Regions from separate parts of the Homo sapiens genome. Here region 1 is linked to region 2. The links are contacts of gene promoters, found by promoter capture Hi-C in blood cells and fetal thymus (Javierre and others, 2016). All regions are on one chromosome and are shown on one strand. Each heading gives the region's core, a stretch centred on a gene start or on the middle of the fragment in contact. The rest is flanking DNA. Distances are from core to core; before and after follow the strand shown.

The links. Contacts are between HindIII fragments. The CHiCAGO score rates a contact against its expected background, and 5 or more counts as called.
Region 1: a fragment that was not itself captured here is called in contact with the fragment with the promoter of C10orf55 in region 2 in 1 of 17 cell types (total CD8 T cells); the score reaches 5.3 in total CD8 T cells.

The regions. Positions count from the first base shown.
Region 1 is chr10:75,055,359-75,061,166 of GRCh38, reverse strand. DUSP29 (dual specificity phosphatase 29) reads left to right here. Exons shown (of 4, transcript NM_001003892.3): 2 at 2,619-2,852. The coding sequence starts at 2,653. Among named protein-coding and RNA genes, the nearest start is that of DUSP29, 15 kb to the left of the region's middle. RefSeq lists an enhancer at 2,395-2,946. The HindIII fragment of the contact is 1,146 bases long and covers 1,391-2,536 here.
Region 2 is chr10:73,918,560-73,924,040 of GRCh38, reverse strand. C10orf55 (chromosome 10 putative open reading frame 55) reads left to right here and starts at 1,264. Exons shown (of 5, transcript NR_160938.1): 1 at 1,264-1,408. RefSeq lists enhancers at 2,574-3,220, 3,221-3,869. The HindIII fragment of the contact is 3,151 bases long and covers 1-2,662 here.

The sequences.
Region 1 (5,808 bases), core at 714-3,213, 1.1 Mb before region 2:
CACACCTGTAATCCCAACACTTTGGGAAGCTGAGGTGGGAGGATCACTTGAGCTCAGGAGTTCGAGACCAGCTTGGCCAACATAGCGAGACCTCATCTCTATTTTAAAAAAGGAAAAAAGAGAAACAACAACTACCTTATAACCATCATCCAGCCCCAATCACCATCACTCATAGCCAGCCCATCTCATTCACACCTACATCAATACCTTGCCCCAACATTATATTATTTATATTTTCCAACTATATTATTTTTGAAGCAAATATTTCAGTATGTTTTTCTAAAAGATAAGGCCCTGTGGTATAACGTAACTGTCCTCGGAATCTCCAGCAAGTCGGCTGATAGATATAGACCTCTTTGGTGAGATGATTCCCGCCATGGTGGTGTGCTCTTCTATTCGAAGGCATATGATGTCTGACCATCTCTTCTTATTCATACGTGGCTGGCAGTTTATGCTCAGTCTCTGGATGCAGCAACTCATCAGGTGGTGTAAAATGGTGCTTCCTTCTTTATTCATTATCTGGAATACTTCTATAAAAGAACATTTCCCGTATCAACCCAGTAGTATATAGTTTGTAAAAGAGAGAAGCAATACATGCAGATTCTTCTCCTTTATCTATCCATCTTCAAAATAAGGAGCTGGTTCCCAAACATCTTCCAACCGTGCATAATAAGTTTTGGGTTTTTTTTTTTTTTTTTATAAGGTCTCACTGTGTTGCCCAGGAGAGCAGTGATATGATCTTGGCTCACTATAGCCTCAGCCTCCTGGGCTCCAGTGGTCCTCCCACCTCAGCCTCAGCCTCCTGAGTAGCTGGGACTACAGGCATGCACCACCACACCCAGCTAATTTTTGCATTTTTTTGTAGAGATGGGTTTTGTCATGTTGCTCAGGCTGGTCTTGAACTCCTGGGCTCATGCAATCTGCCCACCTCAGCCTCCCAGAGTGCTGGGATTACAGGCATAAGCCACTGCTCCCGGACTGTTTTCAGTATTATTATTATTATTTTGAGATGGAGTTTCACTCTTGTTGCCCAGGCTGGAGTGCAGTGGTGCGATCTCAGCTCACTGCAACCTCTGCCTCCTAGGTTCAAGCGATTCTCCTGCCTCAGCCTCCCAAGTAGCTGGGATTACAGGCACCCGCCACTACACCCGGCTAATTTTTTGTATTTTTAGTAGAGATGGGGTTTCGCCATGTTAGGCAGTCTGGTCTTGAACTCCTGACCTCAGGTGATCTGCCCGCCTCGGCCTCCCAAAGTGCTGGGATTACAGGCATGAGCCACCGCGCCTGGCCTTCAGTATTATTATGACCTAAGTGTTTGATGTGTTTTGATCCACTGGAATTATTTTTATTTTTCATGTTCAAATTGTTCCAGTTTTGATAAGTGGAAGCTTCTTCAAGTTGTATTCTGAGTCCCTTTGACATGTTCCTAATGGTCTTTGAAGCCATGAACCCTTTCCTACATTCTCTGCATCCCCGGCCTGCCCCTCCTCACACTGCACCTCCCATCTCCCTCCCCCTGACACTAAGACCCTGTGCTACAGACAGCCTCAATTCATGATCCTCCTTATCTGTAAAATGGGGCTAATGATAGGGTATTAGGATAACCCTATCTCAGTGTTGTTAAGATTAAATGGGCTTACAATCATCAAGCACTTGGAATAGTGTCTGGCACACAATAGGTGTTATATAAGTATTTGTCAAATAAATAAACAAATAGCATTCACCTCCATGGTTCTCAGTCTTCCCACCTTTTCCTCCTTCTCTCCAGTCTCCTTTCCCAGGCTGACCATAGGTGCATCATTTACTCAGCTCAGGAAACAATCAATGTCCAATTCCACTGCAAATTCCTCTCCTTGGGGACAATGGAAAGTCCTCTCCCACATTCCACTGGCAGAGCCTAACAAGCTCTCCAAATGCACATTTCAGTCTCGAGGCACAGCTTTCTATCTTGGGGCATCTCTTCCAATCCCCTTGGTAAGTTAACACAGTGATGGCCAGGCTCCCAGTGTGAGAGTGTGAGCATTGCCTTCAGCTCTTCTGACAGGTTAACCCTCATGCAGCCAGGTTTCCTCCCCTCTCAAGGCTTCTGAAGTCCTGCTGATGTGCGTGTGGCCCAGACCCAGGCCCGGGCAGGTATGGCCTTGGCGATGTACTCTTTCCACTGGCTGACGGCTCCCTGCAGACACTGAGAGGGCCACAGGCCTGGAATGTCAGGAATCTTCTGGGCCTTCCTATTTTGGGTCCCAAATGGCCCAAACCAGTAGGTTTCAGTCAGATAAAGGAAAAAGTAGGAACCAAAGGAGTAAAGTCTAAAGAAAGGTGGGAAGGAACTGGCTGCTTGCAGGATTTCTTAGCTCCAGAGCCCGCCTTGGCCCACGTCCAAGGACCCCAGCTCTCCTTCTCTAGAAAGATTGGAACATTGGGGAAGTGTCATTTAACTGCCATCATGGCCTTCCTTGTTTACCTGTGTGGCCTGGGAAGAGGAAGCCGGGGCATAGCAGGTTGGGGAAACTCTTTCCAAATTTTAAGATAAGCTTATTCCCACCTCTTTTTGTAAAGCCTATTCCCTGCCTCAGTGTCCCCTGCTAACCCCCATCCTGCTTCTCTCTCATAACCAGCTGCAGAAAGGAGAGAAAATCCCTTGGCTCTAAAATGACATCTGGAGAAGTGAAGACAAGCCTCAAGAATGCCTACTCATCTGCCAAGAGGCTGTCGCCGAAGATGGAGGAGGAAGGGGAGGAGGAGGACTACTGCACCCCTGGAGCCTTTGAGCTGGAGCGGCTCTTCTGGAAGGGCAGTCCCCAGTACACCCACGTCAACGAGGTCTGGCCCAAGCTCTACATTGGCGATGAGTAAGTGCCCAGGCCCAGGCTCGCTTGGGAGCAGGCAGCAGCCCCTCCCCAGGCCACGCCCTGCGCCACCTCCTAGCCATGGGCTTTGGAATTTGTAGTCGTTCTGTGAGAACTCAATTAGTTAGGGCTGGGCTTGCCTTCACATTACAGAAAACCTAAACAAAGTCTTAGGCAAGATAGAGGTTTATTTCTCTCTCACATATAAGTGCAGAGGGAGGTGGGCTGGGGCTGGCACGGCCACTGCAGGGTCATCAGGGACTCAGACTCCTGTGTTTCTGCGCCACTGTCCTGGGGACGTGGCTTCTTCCCTCCAGGTGCTGCAGGGTCCCAGATTGCCGCCAGGACCCCAGCCATCAACTCTAGGACCCAGACAGCAGGAGGGTGGAGGGAAAGAAAGAGCAGAAGGGCATCTTCCGAAAGCAAAGTCCCATCCCAGACTTCCCCTGCCCCTAGCTGCAAGGGAGCCTGGGAAATGTAGTCTTTTATTTTAGCTAGCTATAATACCCTCAAGAATAAAATCAGTTCTTAGGTGGATGGTGCAGGAACACATCAATATATGCCTGGAAGTATGGGAGCCTAAATTTAGGTCACTGTCACCTCCTTTAGATTTTTATAACCACCATTCCCCACTCCCTACACAACTGAGATGCACCTACTGTAAATAATATTAATAATGATAACGACTATCCTTTCTTGAACACTGTATGCCAGGCATTGTGCTAAGCATCCTGCATGCATGATCTCATTTTACTCTCCTGATAACCCAGTGATAGAGGCTAATTACTCCCATTATAAAGATAGGGAAACTGAGGCACAGAGCAGTTAAATAACTGGCCCAAGTCCCACAGCTCAGTCAGTGGCAGAGAGCTGGGATTAAAATGCAGCTCTGCCCAACCCAGAGGCTTGTTCTTAACTGCTCCTCCCTCCACTCTCCCGGACTCCAGCCATGTTCCATCTCACCAAGGAGCAGATGCAGATGCTGTAGGACCCCTCCATATATTATTGTATTTATTTTTTTTCTTTTTCTTTTTTTTTCGAGACAGTCTCACCCTGTCACCCACGTTGAAGTGCAGGTTGGAGTGGTGTGACCTCGGCTCACTGCAACCTCTGCCTCCTGGGTTCAAGCAATCCTCTGTCTCAGCTTCCCAAGTAGCTGGGATTACAGGCACCTGCCTCCACACCTGGCTAATTTTTTATTTTTAGTAGAAACAGGGTTTCACCATGTTGGCCAGGCTGGTCTCCAACTCCTGACCTCAGTTGATCTGCCCACATCAGCCTCCCAAAGTGCCGGGATTAAAGGTGTGAGCCACCGTGCCCGGCCTATATGTGATTTTAATACATATCTTGCTGCTTAATACCTGGAGATAATCGTCTAGCCATAGGAAGATCCAGGGTAAGCATCCCTTGCCTTTCGTCTTTCTTTTTTTAAATTGAAAAAGTTACAAATATGACATGCTTAATTATACTAGGTTAAATGAGGTAGAGGGTTATAAAGACAAACTGCATAATCTCCCTTTGTCTCCTCTTAATTCTACCCCTGACTAACCAGTGTTAAATTTACTTGCATACTTCTACTACCTTGTGTGGGCTATTGCCAACATAAGGAAACATATACACACATATAAAGGGTTTACTTTTTTTTTTTTTTGAGATGGAGTCTCCCTCTGTCACCCAGGCTGGAGTGCAGTGGCACCATCTTGACTCACTGCAACCTCCACCTCCTGGGTTCAAGCGATTCTCTTGCCTCAGCCTCCTGAGTAGCTGGGATTACAGGCATGCGCCACCACGCCCAGCTAATTTTTTTTTTTTTTTGAGATGTCCCTCAATGGCGCAATCTCGGCTCACTGCAACCTCCACCTCCTGGGTTCAAGTGATTCTCCTGTCTCAGCCTCCTGAGTAGCAAGAGTAACAGACACCTGCCACTATACCTGACTGATTTTTGTATTTTTAGTAGAGACAGGATTTCACTGTGTTGGCCAGGCTGGTCTCCAACTCCTGAACTCAGGTGATCCACCTGCCTCAGCCTCCCGAAGTGCTGGGATTAAAGGTGTGAGCCACTGCACCCAGGCCTATATATTTTTTAAGCAATTAAAAATGAATCATAGGCTGGGTGCTATGACTCACACCTGTAATCCCAATACTTTGGGAGGCTGAGGCAGGAGGATCGCTTGAGGGCAGGAGTTGGAGATTAGCCTGGACAAAATAGTGAGATCTTGTCTATACAAAAAAAACACAAAAAACAAAAAGCACCAGCATGGTGGTGCACACCTATAGTCCCAGCTACTGGGGAGGGAGGAAGATTGCTGGAGACCAGGAGAGTGATGCTGCAGTGAGCCAAGATTGTGCCACTGCACTTTAGCCTGAGGGATAGAGCAACAGTTTGTCTCCAAAACAAACAAAACCCCATACTATATATACATACTGTTGTATACTTTTATTAATCCATAGTTAGCTGTGCCACAATTTACCCACAATTTCTCAGTTGTGAACATTAGGGGAAGGAAGGAGAGGGGTGTACAGAAACTCTCTAAGGTTTTCTTCTTTGAATTTGGCTTTATTGAGAAATAATTCATAGACCATAAAGTTCACCCTTTTAAAGTATACAATTCAGAGCTTTTGTTATATTTACAGAGTTGTGCAAACATCACCACTCTCTAATTTCAGAATATTTTTGTCACCTCAAAAGGAAACCCTGAACCCACTAAACAGTCACTCCCCATTCCCTACCTGCCTCTCAGGCCCTGGCAACCACCAATCTACTTTCTGTTTTTATAGATTTACTGATTCCCAGACATTCTGTATAAATGGAATGTTATAATATGTTCCTGGCTTTCTTTTACTTTGTATAATGTTTTCCAGGTTCATCCAAATTGTACTTGTATCAGTATTTGATTCCTTTTTATTGCCAATCTCTGTGTGATATTTGCACGTTTCTGTAAGTCTAAAATTAGTTCAG
Region 2 (5,481 bases), core at 15-2,514:
TCCTGCAGCAGGGTCATCACCAGCTGGATCCCACCAGATCCTTCCCCACCATCTCCACCTACTCATTGCCCCCCAGAGTTCTCCACCACAATGGACTATTCCTCATTTCCTTAGAACACCTCACCTTTTCATGCCTCCATGAACTTCCCTACGCCTACAATGCCTTTCTTCTAGTTTGGCAAATTTCTGTGTGTATTTGAATGTCCAGGTAAAATATCACCTCTTCTGTAAAGTCGTCATTGACTTCACCAGGCAGAATCAATTGCTTCTTCATTATTTTTCCATGCATTTTATGCAGACTTAGTATAGCACTTTGCAAAGTGGTGAGCTCCTTGAGGACTAGGACTGCCTCATTTGTATCTAAAATAATGTCCTGTGTATGGGTACTTTAAAAAAATGACAAAGGGCCGGGCGCAGTGGCTCATGCCTGTAATCCCAGCACTTTGGGAGGCCGAAGCAGGTGGATCATGAGGTCAGGAATTTAAGATCGGCCTGGCCAAGACGGTGAAACCTCGTCTCTACTAAAAATAGAAAAAAATTAGTGGGGCATGGTGGCAGGCACCTGTAATCCCAGCTACTCGGGAGGCTGAGGCAGAGAATTGCTTGAACCTGGGAGGCAGAGATTGCAGTAAGCCGAGATTGCGCCACTGCACTCCAGCCTGGGCGACAGAGCGAGATTCCATCTCAAAAAAAAAAAGAAAGAAAGAAAGAAATGACAAAGATTGTTGAATGAATCTCAATGTGACTGAAACCTCAAAAAGAGACCTAGAACATCCTTTTTTTTTTTTTTTTTTTTTTGAGATGGGGCCTCTTTATGTTGCCCAGGCTGTTCTGGAACTCCTGAACTCAAGGGATCCTCCCACTTTGGTATCCCAAAGTGCTGGAATTTACAGATGTGAGCCACTGCACCTCGCCTAGACCATCTTTTCCCTCAATTTGTTATTAAAACTCAGCAACCTCACTGACACATGCTATGCCATGGATAAAACTTGAAAACATCATGTTAAGAGTGAAAGAGGCCAGTCACAAAGAACCACATATTATAGGATTCTATTGATATGAAATGCCCAGAATTGGCAAACCCACAGAGAGGACAGAAAGTAGTAAATTAGTGATTGCCTAGGGCTGAGGGGGTTGGGGAGAAAAACGGAGTGATTGTGAGTGGGTACAGGATTTCTTTGTGAGGTGATGAAGTGTTCTAAAATTGATTGTGATGTCTCACAATTCTGTGAATCTACTAAAAACCATTGCATTGTACACTTCAAATGGTGCCAGACGTGGTGGTATGAGCCTGTAATTCCAGCCACTCAGGAGGCTGAGGTGGGAGGATCACTCTGGCCTAGGAGTTTGAGATCAGCCTGGGTGACAGAGCAAGACCCTGTCTCTAGAAAAGAGAAAGAATAAATGGGTAAGTTGTATGATATATGAATTATATCTCAATAAAACTGATTTTTTTTCTTTAGAGACAGGGTCTTGCTCTGTCACCCAGGCTGGAGTGCAGTAGTGCAATCATAGCTCACTGCAGCCTCGAGCTCCTGGGCTCAAGCAATCCTCCCGTCTAGGCCTCCCACAGTATTAGGATTACAGGTGTGAGCCATTGCACCTAGCCCAGAATTGATTTTTAAAAAACACCTCAGCAACTCCTCTTACTTCATCTAATTCAAAGGGAGGGCTTAAATGTTTCCTTCTTGGAAGGAAGGTGGACCCAATGGGAGTGAGTATGGAGGGGTATAGGCAGGGGTGCTGCTGTGGTCAGCTTGGGAAAGATAGGGCATACGTGGAAAGCAGGCTGAGTGCTGTTAATATAATGGGCTGAGAATACTTCAGAAAGAGGGGTTCTGGTGAAAACGGAAACCACTTCAATGAAACCAGATTGCAGCAGAAAGGCTGAGGTTACTGTGAGAACAGTGAAGTTTTACTTTGAAACCAATGGCTGAGTGTGGTCTCCTCATCTGGCCTGGGAATCTTCTAGGAGGAAAGAATTGTTATCTAGGAGAGGATTAAAATTCTGATAGATGAGGCTGGGCGCAGTGGCTCACGCCTGTAATCCCAGCACTTTGGGAGGCCGAGGTGGGTGAACCACGAGGTCAGGAGTTTGAGACCAGCCTGGCCAACATGGTGAAACCCCCGTCTCTACTAAAAATACAAAAATTAGCCGGGTGTGGTGGTGCACGCCTGTAATCCCAGCTACTCAGGAGGCTGAGGCAGGATAATAGCTTGAACCTGGGAAGCAGAGGTTGCAGTGAGCCGAGATGGGCCACTGCACTCCAACCTGGGCGACAGAGCAAGACTGTGTATGGAAAAAAAAAAAAAAATTCTGGGCTGGGCGGGTGGCTTACAACTGTAATCCCAGCACTTTGGGAGCCCAAAGCGGGTGGATCACAAGGTCAAGAGACCGAGACCATCCTGGCCAACATGGTGAAACCCCGTCTCTACTAAAAATACAAAAATTAGCCGGGCGTGGTGGCATGTGCCTGTAATCTCAGCTACTCAGGAGGCTGAGGCAGGAGGATCACTTGAACCCGGGAGGCGGAGGTTGCAGTGAGCCAGGATTACGCCACTGCACTCCAGCCTGGCAACAGAGTGAGACTCCGTCTCAAAAAAAAAAAAAAAATTCTGATAGCTGTTGCCTAGAAACCCAGCAACCATAAAGTAGAAAGCTTGAAAGGGGGGCTGCTCTCCTTTTGCCCTAGTTGGACTCTCCTGAGAGGTGATAAATCCTAGTACCGCGCATGAGGACTCTGGAGATGGCTGCCTGGGTTCGAACCCTGACTCTTTGCATTTGGAGCTGCATTGCCTCGTGCAAGTCACTCAATCTGTCTGTGCCTCCATTTTCTCTACTGTTAAATGGGGCTAGTGATACTACCTTCCTCATAGGATTCTTGGGAGGATTAACTCAGACAACACATGAATAATTTAGCACAGTGTTGGTCTGGCATGGTGGCTCATGCTTGTAATCCCAGCACTTTGGGAGGCTGAGGCGGGTTGATCACTTGAGGTTAGGAGTTTGAGACCAACCCGGCCAACATGGTGAAACCCCATCTCTATTGAAAGTACAAAAAATTAGCCAGGCGTAGTGGCGGGCGCCTGTAATCTCAGCTACTCGGGAGGCTGAGGCAGGAGAACTGCTTGAACCCGGGAGGCAAAGGTTGCACAGTGAGCTGAGATTGAGCCACTACACTCCAAACTGGGGGACAGAGCAAGACTCCATCTCAAACAAAAAAAAAAAAGGCCGGGCACGGTGGCTCACGCCTGTAATCCCAACATTCTGGGAGGCCGAGGCAGGCGGATCACGAAGTCAGGAAATCAAGACCATCCTGGCCAACATGGTGAAACCCCATCTCTACTAAAAACAATACAAAAAGTAGCCGGGCGTGGTGGTGGGCGCCTGTAATCCCAGCTACTCGGGAGGCTGAGGCAGGAGAATCGCTTGAACCTGGGAGGCGGAGGTTGCAGTGAGCCGAGATCACACCACTGCACTCCAGCCTGGGCGACAGAGCGATACTCCATCTCAAAAAAAAAAAAAACAAAAGCAAAAACAGAAAAAGCACAGTGCTTGATCGTGGAGGCACTAATAGGAGGCAGTCTCTGGAGTGAGAATCTGGAACTGTGAAACTGGTTGCTGGAGAAGCGGCTGATGCCTGCTAGCCTGGGGTGAGATCTAATATTAGGCAAAGAGACAGCAGCTGGCTGGGGGTCAGGGTGTTGGCTGGGAAATGGCCTGAAAATTGTTAACAGCCTCCTGGCTTAACCCTGCCAGTAGGGCTCATACTTCCTGTTTTCAGTGTCTCTGAGCCCTGATGCTGGAGCTGCTCAAGTTTGAACAAGATCTTTCTTGGCCCCTGAGGGGAAGGCAGAAACTGAACAGCCACTCGGCTTGGGCAGCTTCCTAGCAGGTTTCCACTCCCGCAAAATAGTGCAGTTCTGAGGTGGGAGAGGGCAGAGGGTTCCCATCTGATCTGATGCTACAATAATTTACTTAGCTTTGTAATAATAACCACCGTTTTTATGCTTTTATTAGGTGCCAGTATTATGCTAAAGGACTTATGAACTCATGAATCCTTTCTGTTGTTGTTGTTGTTGTTGAGACGAAGTCTTGCTCTCTGTTGCCCAGGATAGAGTGCAGTGGTGTGATCTCGGCTCACTGCAAATTCCACCTCCCAGTTTCAAGCAATTCTCGTGCCTCAGACTCCCGAGTAGCTGGGATTACAGGCATATGCCACCACGCCTGGCTAATTTTTGTATTTTTTTTTTTTTAGTGGAGACAGGGTTTCACCTTGTTGGTCAGGCTGGTCTCGAATTCCTGGCCTCAGGTGATCCGCCCACCTTGGCCTCCCGAAGCACTGGGATTACAGGCTGAGCCACTGTGTCTGGCCTTCATGAATCCTTATAACAACCCAGGGAGGTAGATTGTATCATCTCTTTTGTACAGATGAGGAAACTGAGGTGCAGAGAGGCTAATAACCTTTCTCAAGTCACACAGCTGGTGTTAGATTCTAGTTCAGGCCACCGGACTCGAAAATCCATGCTCTAAACCACTGCATCAACCTGTGTAAAACAGCACACTAGATGATGGGGATCAAAAGCCGAATACTAATCCCAGTACTTTGGGAGACCAAGGGAGGCAGATCACCTGAGGTCGGGAGTTCGAGACCAGCCTGGCCAACAGGGTGAAACCCCATCTCTACCAAAAACACAAAAATGAGCCGGGTAGTGGTAGTGCATGCTTGTAATCCCAGCTACTTGGGAGGCTGAGGCAGGAGAATCGCTTGAACCTGGGAGGCAGAAGCTGCAGTGAGCTAAGATTGCGCCACTGCACTCCAGCCTGGGTGACAGAGTGAGACCCTGCCTCAAAAAAAAGAAAAAGCCAAATACTTGGAGTTCTTGCCCTCTAGGGAAGCACGGTCCAGAAAGCCTTTAACCAGGAAATCCAGGAGACCTTGTGCCACCAAACCCCACTCAGAAAACTGGCTGTTCATGCAGAGAACTCATGCTGACCATATCTTGAATTTTTCTGGGCACTTCATATATTCTGACCAATTGTCCCCAAAGGCTGTCAATCAGTGGTGCATGTTAGTAACACCGAGGGAGCTTTTCTAAAACCACGAGACCTGGAGCCAGCCCTGACCTGAATCACAATCTCTACAGGTGGAGTGTAGGTGTGCATATTTTAAAAGGTCCTCAGATGACTCGATTAAGAAACACTGCCCCAACCCATTAACACAGCTTGGCAATTCTAATTTTTGATACCCAATTATCTCCCAACCTGCCTTCTACACCCCAGCTTTTCAGAACTTGATGTTTTGTTCAAAATATATAGTCACCCCCATTAGGACATCATCCAGCTTTGAGATTCTGGGCCCCCTAATCATAGGCATAGCAATGGCTGGTCACAAGCTCTGTTAACACACTGAGAAAATTCCAGCATCAGTCCCACACACAGATGATGGGAAATTATGTTTTTTGTTTCCTGAATGCCAC